3 separate regions of the Homo sapiens genome follow, and regions 2 and 3 are each linked to region 1. The links are contacts of gene promoters, found by promoter capture Hi-C in blood cells and fetal thymus (Javierre and others, 2016). All regions are on one chromosome and are shown on one strand. Each heading gives the region's core, a stretch centred on a gene start or on the middle of the fragment in contact. The rest is flanking DNA. Distances are from core to core; before and after follow the strand shown.

The links. Contacts are between HindIII fragments. The CHiCAGO score rates a contact against its expected background, and 5 or more counts as called.
Region 2: a fragment that was not itself captured here is called in contact with the fragment with the promoter of DYNC1LI2 in region 1 in 2 of 17 cell types (naive B cells and total B cells); the score reaches 5.9 in naive B cells.
Region 3: a fragment that was not itself captured here is called in contact with the fragment with the promoter of DYNC1LI2 in region 1 in 9 of 17 cell types (total B cells, naive B cells, fetal thymus and 6 more); the score reaches 8.4 in total B cells.

Annotation. Positions count from the first base shown.
Region 1 is chr16:66,750,049-66,753,535 of GRCh38, reverse strand. DYNC1LI2 (dynein cytoplasmic 1 light intermediate chain 2) reads left to right here and starts at 1,927. Exons shown (of 13, transcript NM_006141.3): 1 at 1,927-2,051; 2 at 2,190-2,263. The coding sequence starts at 1,945. It overlaps DYNC1LI2-DT (DYNC1LI2 divergent transcript), which reads right to left and starts at 1,784. Exons shown (of 2, transcript NR_133569.1): 1 at 636-1,784; 2 at 1-540. RefSeq lists an enhancer at 1,571-2,286 and a silencer at 1,500-2,299. The HindIII fragment of the contact is 3,643 bases long and covers 998-3,487 here.
Region 2 is chr16:66,454,657-66,458,326 of GRCh38, reverse strand. The region is part of intron 2 of BEAN1 (brain expressed associated with NEDD4 1); the gene reads right to left. It also overlaps the pseudogene LOC107984807. Among named protein-coding and RNA genes, the nearest start is that of BEAN1-AS1, 20 kb to the left of the region's middle. The HindIII fragment of the contact is 1,408 bases long and covers 1,342-2,749 here.
Region 3 is chr16:66,392,318-66,395,828 of GRCh38, reverse strand. It overlaps CDH5 (cadherin 5), which reads right to left. Exons shown (of 12, transcript NM_001795.5): 7 at 3,446-3,511. Among named protein-coding and RNA genes, the nearest start is that of LINC00920, 14 kb to the left of the region's middle. The HindIII fragment of the contact is 9,921 bases long and covers 1-3,511 here.

The sequences.
Region 1 (3,487 bases), core at 678-3,177:
TTTTTTTTTTTTTTTGTATTTTTAGTAGAGACGGGGTTTGGCCATGTTGGACAGGCTGGTCTGGAACTCCTGACCTCAAGTGATCCGCCAGCCTCGGCCTCCCAAAGTGCCGGGATTACAGGTGTGAGCCACCGTACCTGGCCTTCCTATGCTTTTTTGTTAAACTCTTCCACAGGACTTTAATAGTTCCTGCTAAATTTCAACTTGTTAGATTTAGTCTCTGCTCAGTTTGTCATGCAGTAGATAAGGCAACCCTTCCTGCTTCAGGTCATCCACAACTTCCATGACTGCTGCTGTATTCTTATCCAAGTCACTGATGGCACCCTGAATTGGCTGGCCAGGGCAGGAGGTTTGGGCAGGCCCCTAGCAGCCTCATCTGCTGGTCCCTCCTCTTCATCAGCCACCTCTGGGCTAGTCTTTAATAAGCCTCAGTGCTATCATCCAGCATTGATTTCACTTTCGCATCTAAGATGTGAATTGTCAAATGCCCTGTTGAAATCTGCATTTGCTGTATCTGCAGCATCCGCCTACCTGGTACTCCTGCAAAAAAGAAAGATACTGTGTAAATCTGGTATTCTCTTTTCCTTTAGTGTTTAATCACAAAATTTCACTTAGTGCTGATTAAGCTCACTGGCCTGTAATTTTCATCTCCATCTTCTGTCCTGTGAAAATTCAGCACTGCTTGCCCTTTTAGGACTTCTGGCACTTTGCCTGATTTTCCCAGATTTCCAAGGGAGGAACTCAGTGGGTTTTCACTCTCGTCTTGTTTAAACCTTACATCCAGTTTGGCAGATGATATGCCCATTTGTTTTATCCCGTAATTCATGCCGCCAGATTTTTTGGCATCAGGATCACAATCCTACTCATCTGAAACCTACTTAGGTGGTGCTTTTCTGCCACATTCCACTTCCTTGTGATATTTAGAAATGTCTTGTTAGCCTGTTTCCATAGAGAATGGCAAGAGCCCTCAAGTAGAGGCCACACCTAAAATTAAGCTTGATAATGGAATGTATGTTTTTCCTTCGGTTACTCTCCGCTCTTTCCCTTTTCCATCCCCTTTCCTTTTATTTTTCTCCCCGCTCTGCACCTGCCAGCTGGCCCCCAAGGAAATTAAGGGCTCCTCTTCTGGTGTGAAATGCTGGCTCCCTGAAAACATCATTTTAAAAAGCATGTTAATAAAGCAAAGCCAAGTGTATTATGCACTGCGGTCAAGAGCACTACTTCACAGTCTTTAGTCTTCGGAGGAGGAGGGGGAAATGCAGGATATTTATGAGGATTCTGGGGTCTTCCTTAAGGCTAGTCTTTCAATGCAGGGCTTGAGTAGGGTTAGGCCAAGTTCATGATATAATGGTCCAAGGTTGGGGAATAAATTAGAAGTACCGAATGTTATCTTCTAGCCTTGGGTCCTTGGGTGGGTTTCTTAAATTTTTTGAGCTTCAGGTTCCTCATCTGTGAAAGGGTTAGATAAGATTCAGTGAGATAATGTGTGACTCTGGCACATGGTGAGCTCTAGATAAATGGCGCTTTTGTGTCCATCAGTCTCATTCCCAAAGCCTAGGCTTTCGGGTCGGTCATCCGGCTGCCCGACCCGCGACGGCGCAGGGGAATCGGCGAGCGTGGCGGGGTGCTGCGCTGCGCCCCTCAGCCGGCAGAGGCCGCCAGCGCGCCCTCGGTCCGGACGGTGCCCGCCCCTGCCACCGCCTCCCCGCGCATGGCTGCCCCGGCGGCTGCCTGACCGCCGCCCGCCACCTCGGCGGCCTCGCAACCCGTGGGAGCCCGTGGCCATCGCAGACCTAGAGGACACGTTGGGCGGCGCAGTCGCCGCGGCAAGGTCGGCGGGCGGCGCGGCGCGAGGGACGGCGAGCGGGGGGCGGCCCGGCCCGGGTCCTCGCGGGTCCTCGGCGGGCCCGGGGGAGGGCCCTCTTTGTGGCTGCAGTTGGCAAGATGGCGCCGGTGGGGGTGGAGAAGAAGCTGCTGCTAGGTCCCAACGGGCCCGCGGTGGCGGCCGCCGGCGACCTGACCAGTGAGGAGGAGGAAGGCCAGAGCCTATGGTGAGGCCGCGGGCGGTCGGGCCGGGCCGTGGGGGGCGCGGCCTCTGGGCCGGACCGTCGGACACACTGAGGGGCCGACGCGAGCCGGGCCATCCCAGCCCGGCCCGGGGCTGACCACTCTTGCCATTGTCGCCACAGGTCCTCCATTCTGAGCGAAGTGTCCACCCGCGCCAGGTCCAAGCTGCCGTCCGGCAAGAACATCCTGGTCTTCGGTGAGCGCCGGCGGCGGGGCGTTGCCCCAGGTCGCTGGGGTGGGCGAGGCGGGCGCCCCTCCCTCAGGTCCCCGCCTTCCCCGTTCCAGCCGCCTGCCCGCAGCCTGGCGGGAAAGGGACCGTCGGCCCTGGCCGGTCAGCTGGAGAGTGGTCAAGCCTCCAGCGCCTGAGGGTGGGATGCTGCCCTCTTTGGAGAGCGTAGTGGTGCTTTGGGGTTGTCGGCATATTGTTTCAGTCACTTGGCCCTCTATGCCTTCATTGCCTCGACGGTTACCAAATTGAGGTCGTGGAGAGGGGAAGCTAGTAGATGAGATTAGGTGGAGAAGGTGGGAGAACGAGGTGACCTGGGCTCGGAGCTGTGGGGAAATGACCACGGGAGCCTTCTTTGAGCCTCATCAGTAGTGCATAGTCCGAGGTTTTAGGGACTTTGCAGAGGACAGAGAGTCAGCACTGGGGACGTTTCCTCCATTATGCTAGCCCTCACTGCTAGGTTACCTGAGTCAGGTCCCTTACTCCCTCTGGCCTCACTCTCCTCAAGTGAGGGAGTTTGGGTACATTCACACAGCAAGTCCATTTGTTGCTTGGGACCTGTGGGCTGGGCACAGGCTCAGCATAGGCGACTCTTAAACACTATAGAAGAATCTCAGTCTGGTGGAAGACAGATGTATTGGTGATTGCATTGCACCATGCCGATTATTGTGGAAGCATTACACTGCTTAGAGCTGGTGAAGGAGGATGATTCGGGGGTTGAGTATTTTGCAGAAAAGTGTCAGTATGCAGGGACACAGATGACAAGAGGGTGTGGGGTTTGGAAACTGCTAGAAGCGCCTTGTGGTTGGTGGCTGCTAAGGTAAGTTGGGGGCAGATTGTGGGAAGGCTGAAGAGTTAGTGCTGTTTCCTGAAGTTCTCTGATTTTTCAAATGGCTTTTATCTCACCTCCATCCCCCAATTCCCATGGGAATCACTGCCTTGGTAGTTTTCCTACTGTTAGAATGTGTGACCTTTCTCAGGAATTGACTGTGGTAGGTAATACCGGACCCTTAGAGATCTTCAAGAAGTGGGGGATCAAGATCACCAGATCTGAGTTTTAGAAAGAACGCTGCCTGCAGAGGGACAGTAGCTCAAAATGAGCAGGTACTGAAGTCAGGCTGACAGGTCCTCACCTTGGTCTGGATGCAGAGGGCCTGAATAAGGTAGAGGCATTGGAGATGGAGAGGAGGTCTT
Region 2 (3,670 bases), core at 796-3,295, 300 kb after region 1:
CAGGGAAACTGAGGCAGACCATCACTCCCAAGTCCTTGCTGAGTGTAGCATGGAGGCAGCTCCACAGTCATTCTGTCTGGGTTCAGGGAAGTGCTCTTTGCAGCCTGAAGCTACCTGAGCTGCAGTGACAAAGGGAAGGAACAGAGACGCAAAAGTGCTGACTCAGCACCTTCAGGCTGCCAATCCTGCCCACTCTCTCAGAGATGCTGGTTAGAGGGAGAAGGGGGGCCAAGGACTCAGAACTAATGGATGGCTCCTGTCACAAAAATTCCAAAGACATTTGTCACAGGTCCACTTCCCGGGCAAGTCTGGCCTCATCAGTACACTCTTCCTCCACTGCTGAAATGGACAGGGTGAGGCGTGGAGTCATTGGAAGGAGTGTAGGGAACACGACTCAGGCACCATTTTCCCTCTGTTCACCATTGGCTGATCCCATCCTCTAAGCAGGGACTTCAAGAAGGGCTGGGGGAGGGGACATGGCAGGGCAGGGCTCATTGGTTTGGATACTTCTGAGTCTCCTCTGCTGCTGTTTTTTTTTTTTGGGCAACTTTTTAGCTCACTTGCTGATATCTGTCCTCTGGTCACCAGGAGACTGATAGAGGGATGTTGGAGGTCTGGGGACAGGCCAGGGACATCTCAGAGAGGAGGACACAGAAGGGCTGGGTCTCGAAAGATGAACTAAGCATATCAGGATCAGTAAAGGGAGAGAAGAGCATGGGCAGGAACACAGAGGGGTGAGTCTGTAGGATGTCACCTTGATGGCAGCTGAACATTTGGATCATGGGGTGAGGAAAAGGATACTTGGTGTTCAGACTACTTTTTACAATGAGGATGCATCTCTACAAGAAGTCAACTAATGTCTTGTCATGGTCCATGCCACCTGACATTTGTGGCATTGGGAGCGGGGCAGATTACAGTGGACAGGAGACATGGAAGGTGAAGTCATATACCTATTCATCAGTCCCTATTCAACAATCCTCCATCAATTCACCCAGCCAGCAAATCATCCATCCTCTCAGGCATTTACCTATCTATGCATCTACTCAACATCCACTCAATCGTTCACTTATCCATCCATCCATTAATCATCCATCCATCCGTCATTCATCCATCCATCCACCCATCCCCTCACCAATACTCACCAAACACTTAATTCATGCCTGGATATATGCTAGACACTGGGAACACAAATATGAATCAGACTAAAATGGACCTCTCAAACTGGGGAAAGCAAGAGGTCCCACACAGCTGCCCTGGCACTGTTCCCTGCTCCCACCTCTGCTTCCATCTGTTTAATGTGTCAGAGTGAACAGGAGAGCACTTTACTGCCAAATAGAAGCTTTTCAACCATTGTGTTAAAACGTAACTGGAAAAATACAAGTGACCACCCACAAACCCTTAATGGTTCTATAAATGTAAGATGAAAGCAATTCATTCCACTATTAAGATACATTCTGCCACTTAAGTTTATTTAAATAAACTCACTAAGAGTAACGCACATATTCCTCTGCGTATCTAACTTCCTTAAGTTTACCACCTTGTCATCATTCACTAAGGTTTTAACTCCGGCTTAAAGAAGAACTTATTTATTGGCTGAAAAACTCACTGAAACAATTTCACAAATTACTTTTCCCTATTTCTGCAGAGCAAATGGCAAACTGGTTGACATCACAGAACCAAGCCACATTAGAATTAAACATTCCACTTGAACCCACACCAAGCTCTCATTTTCTTGCTAGAATAATGACTGGACTCAACCTGCTCATATTCTCTTCTCTTCCATCACCATCTAGAGTTGGCTCTTGGGCCATTTTCCACAAAGAGCCCAGAGGCTTTTATATATATAATATAATGCCAGTGGAGTTACTGTGCATGCCTGATAAGTAGGAGACAGTGGAATTGGGTTGAGAAGCAGATTCTGGGGGGCTGGCTGGGCCCACCTACCGGCTAGGGGATTTGCTCCCACACCCCAGCTTGCATTTTGCTACTCAAAATCATGGCTCAGAAAAATGACCTTTGACTATAATATGGACTTTCCAGGAAGCTAGTGAATAATTGACATGTAAAATGTTAAATTCATGAATGCTGCGAATTTTCATCAGCTATCCCACCCAGGGGAGAGAGAATATTTACAAAGGATTGTGTGAAGGCCATGTCATCCACAGGCTGCTCTGCACAGTAAAGGTTTTAGTCCTTGGAACAAGTTCAACCAGCCTAGAGCTGTGTTCCTAGGCCACAGTGACTGAGCCTCCTTCCCAAGAATGAGCTTCCTGGAGTTGGGCTTTGCCTTATGCTCAGAGCCTGTGTTGAGGGGACTAGCTTAAGAAGTAGCTTTATCACAGCCAGGAGCAGTGGCTCACACCTGTAATCCCGGCACATCGGGAGCCTGAGGTGGGCGGATTGCTTGAGCGCAGGAGCTCAAGACCACCCTGGGCAATATGGTGAAATCCTGACTCTTAAAAAAATACCAAAATTAGTTGGGCATGGTGGCGTGTGCCTGTAGTCCCAGCTAATTGGGAGGCTGAGGTGGGAGGATCACTTGAACTTGGGAGGTCAAGGCTGTGGTAAACTGTGATTGCACTACTGCACTTCAGCTTGGGCAATAGAATAAGACTCTGTTTCAAAAAAAAAAAAAAAAGTAGCTTTATTATAAGCGTGTTGCTGCAGGTATTGTCCACTATACCTCTCAGTATCCCTAGGTAAGGCTCATGTAATAAATTTCTCCAAGATATGAGGGCCAGGGAAAGCTTTTCTTTCTCCAAAAGAGCTACTTTCTCCTCATAGACCATGAGAATCATGTAACTGATCCACTTTGCTGTTTTGCTTTGGCCTCCAGGAAGCTCAGGGACACTCTGTAGCTCAACTTCAAAAGGAAAGGAAATCATTCCTTCTTTGGCTCTCTGGTGCTAGTTAGCATCATTCAACACAGCCAATTTACAAATTCCCTCTGTGATTCAGATTTGGGAGAATGAGCCAACTTATGGTATGTGCAGGTCACCATTACATTACTTGCTGTTGTAGCTGTGAATAATCATCCTGATTTGGGGGTGTTACTTGCATTGCTCTAAAAGCTACTGGGAGAGGATGTACCCAGAAGTGGTAAATGCAGTGTTTAAGAGCCTGGCTTAGTGACACTGACCAGGGTATTTAATACTTACGTACCTTAGCTTCCTCATCTGTAAAAGAGTAATGACCACTCAGAGTGTTTCTGTGAGGATTAAGGGAGATAATTTAGCAGTCCATACATGCAACTATAAAGCTAGACAAAACTGTCAAAGTACCATTGCAGTTCCTGGAAATTGATCAAAGGCATACAACGAACTGAGAAGCACTTAGTATGAAAAAGACTGAATGTCAGGTAAGCACAGTGTGAACCTGTAATGTTCTTGCCTATGACTGCCTCCATACCCCTCCCCACCAGCTCTGCTCCCCAGTCTGTGAAAACCAGCAGCTTCCCTGCTACTGTTGGAAAGAGCCCATCCAAATGGATCACACTTTCTTGTTTCTTTGTCTTATAAAGTATGATCCATATTCAGGAAAAAATAAAAATAACAAAATAAAAAACCAAACCCAAAGCAAAAAAAAAAAAAAAAAAAAGAAAGAAAGAAAAGGAAGATGTATGCATGGATTAATAACTCCACTTAAAGGGCAGAGATTGTCAGAGTAAATA
Region 3 (3,511 bases), core at 239-2,738, 360 kb after region 1:
TGGTACCTGAGACCATCAGATGCACTTTCAGAGCTGAACAGGTGACATCACACCATAGCTGGGACTTGTTTTAGTGATTAATGAAAAGATCATTGGGCAAGAGCCAGGAAGGAATACAAAAAGAGCTGGAAGAGATAAGAAGTAATTACAAAGAAATTAACTTTGTGAAATAAAAAACTTAAAAAGTTCTTTCAGAAATCAGGAAAAATCTATGGAAAGATAAATATATATGTTTTGTGTATATAGGAATAATAGTTGCTATTAATGAGGAAAATCCCAGAACAAACAGAACAGAAGAAATAACAAAAAAAAAAAAAAAAAAAAAGAAAAGAAAAGTTTCCTGATCTGAAGAAAGGCTTGAGTCTACACATTATAAGATGTCATTGACATCAGGCATCATTGAAAAAAACCCCAATACTTAGGCAAATCCTGACGACACTTACGAATTTCAAGGCTGTGTGAAGAAACTGAAAAGAGTCCAGACAGAAAGAAATAATTTCCTTATGAGGAAAGAAAAATCAGATTTGCCTCAGATGCCCCCACAAAATTAAATACTAGAATACATTGATAGTATTTTTGAAGGGAAGTGTTTATAATCTGAGGATTATACGAATACATCTAGGTGTTATTAGAAGGCAAGGTTGGGCATGGTGGCTCACATCTGTAATTTGAGTGCTTTGGGAGAGGCTGAAGCTGGAGGTTTGCTTGAGGCCAGGAGTTCAAGACCAGCCCAGCCCAGGTGACAGAGTGAGACCCTGTCTCACCAAAAAAAAAAAAAAAAAAAAAAAAAAAAAAAAAAAAAAAAAAAAAGATTAGCCTGGTGTGGTGGTGTGTGCCTGTAGTCCCAGATACTCAGAGGCTGAGGTGGGAGGGTTGCTTCAGCCTAGATGTTCAAGGCTGTAGTGAGCTATGGTTGTGCCACTGCACTCTAGCCTGGGTGACAGAGGAAGAACCTGTCCCCCCCACCCCCCAAAAAAGGCAAAGAACTAAGATATTTGTGTCCTGAATTTTTTTTTGAAAACTTACTGTATCTAACTAAACATCTCAATATAAAGTAAAAACCTGGCATGGGAAGAATTAAAACAAAACTATTGATTTTTTTTATCATACATAGAAAAGCAATGGGTGTGTGTATGTCTATAATAGTTTTAACTAGAAAATATAGGTCCAAGAAAACATTTTAAATTTTGCAGATAGAAGTAAATCTCACTGGTAGAAATAAAAATGGATGCACCTCATCCAAATATCTAGGAGAAAAAAAAAATAAAGAAACATAGACTGTATAGCAAAGATGAGGAAAAAGAAAAAAGCCATTAAATTTGATAAATGAGAAATGTAAAACAAGATAAAAGAAGGAACATCAAACATATCAATTATGATGAAAAATGTAAATAGGTTAAACACAAAGCATTTCAGTTTAGATTAAAAAGCAAAGCCAAATGCATTCTTGTTTTCAAGAGACAACTTAATGCCAAATGACCTGGAAAAATTAAAAGTAAAGGTTGTAAAATTTGCATTAGGCGTATATGAATAACATGAAAACAGGACTAACAAATGTAACATCAGGAAACAGAATTAAAGGCAAAATATTTAAGCAGAACAAATTGGCTAATTACATTTGGATGAAAGTTACAAACCATAATGAAGGTAAAATAGTTGCAAACCTTTGTTAACTGAATAGAAAAATTTAAATACATAAAGTCAAAACTTAGATATTCTAGGAAGAAGTGGACACAAATACAATTGTATCACATCACAGAACAAGCTAAAGCAAAACAAAAAAAACACCCTATGACTTATAAATGAAAATAAAGAAATCAAGTCAATCTCTTAAATAAACCCTTGGATCAAAGGAGAAACAAAAATTATAATTACAGGCTATTTAGAAAAGAATGGCAATGAAGAGTAGTCCCAAAACTTAGGATATGAGGCCAAAATGGAAGAACATATTTTGTCCTTAATAAGAAGACTTAATACCCTTGAAACATTAGCTATACCAAAATTAATATATAAACACTAGAATTCTAATGTTTAAAAAACCTGGATACAAAATTTTAAATTTCACAAAAGAAAAAATGAGAGTTGACAAAAAATTATATCAAATAAAAAAGCAACATGGGAAGGACTTTTATGTATATCTAAGATCTAGTGTAAAGCTATATGGTTTGGATCTGTGTCCCCACCGAATCTCATGTTGAAATGTAATCCCCAGTGTTGGAGGTGGGCCCTGGTGGGAGGTGGATAGACCATGGGACAGAGTTCTCATGAATGGGTTAGCTCCATCCCCTAGGTTCTGTTCTCAAGCTAGTGAGTTATCATGAGACCAGGTTGTTGAAAAGTGTGTAACAACTCCCTTCCCACTCCTGTTCTGGCCGTGTAAGACGTGCCTGCTTCCCCAGGACTGTAAGTTTTCTGAGGCCTCCCCAGAAGGAGAAGCCACTATACTTCCTGTTAAACCTCTTTTCTTTATAAATTACCCAGTCTTAACTATTTCTTTATAGGAGAATGGACTTATACAAGCTAGTAGAATAAAACAGAATAGCTTTGCTATAGAATGATGGATAGGACAGAGAATTAGAAGTAGATACAGGTATATACAGAAAACTTAGTATATAATGAAGGTGGGAAAACGATGACTTATTATTATAATATTTAGTAAATGGTGCTGGCAAAATCAGCTATGCATCTACAATAAAATAAGATTGAATTGAATTTATACTTACTATTGCATATTATATGGCTCTAAAAAGTATCTGTTGGAACTATATCATTTTTTTCTAAAGATTGTAAAAGAGAAATTTAGTTAAGATAGAAGAGCAAATATCGATGAAACCAGCATGGCATGATCCAAAAAAATTTTAAAACAATCAAACATCAAAAGCAAACAGACAACAACAAACCCACCATAAATGCATCCACATGTTTGTGTGGTCACGAAAAGAAAGGAGCAATAGGACCAGGTTAGGCCACGAACATGAGTTATCTGAGAGTGGGGGTTATCAGTGTTTTCTTGGTAGATCTCTGTGTTGTTTCACTGTATAAAATGAACACTTCTTACTTTTGTGGTTTGGGGAAGATAGATTCAAGAATACAGTTTTAGTGAAGGGGCCTCTGGTGTGTCGTCTGATTGGTTGCTTTCTTGACTGTCAGATCTTACCACATAGGACTGGTGAGAGCTGTGGTGCAGAGAATAAGCCTTCAAGGCCGGACAGAGGACAAGTAGCTCTGGATGCCCAGGACCATGCTAGGTGGGGGAGTCCAGGCAGGTCAAGATGCCAGGCTGCCAAGTGCAAGAGCTTGGGCTTCTGGTCTTGCCTCTGTCACTTTCCCTGTAAGTGCTAGGAGAAGCCAGTTCCCCTCTCTGAGTCCTGGCCTCAGACCAGCAGGCATAGGAACATCCAGGCCGGATTGTCCTTATCATTCTCATCGACACACGCCCCCTTACCCAATGCTATGCCTAGCCGCATCAGGGTCCATGGCCAGCACTGTGCCAATCAGAGGCTTCTTCTGG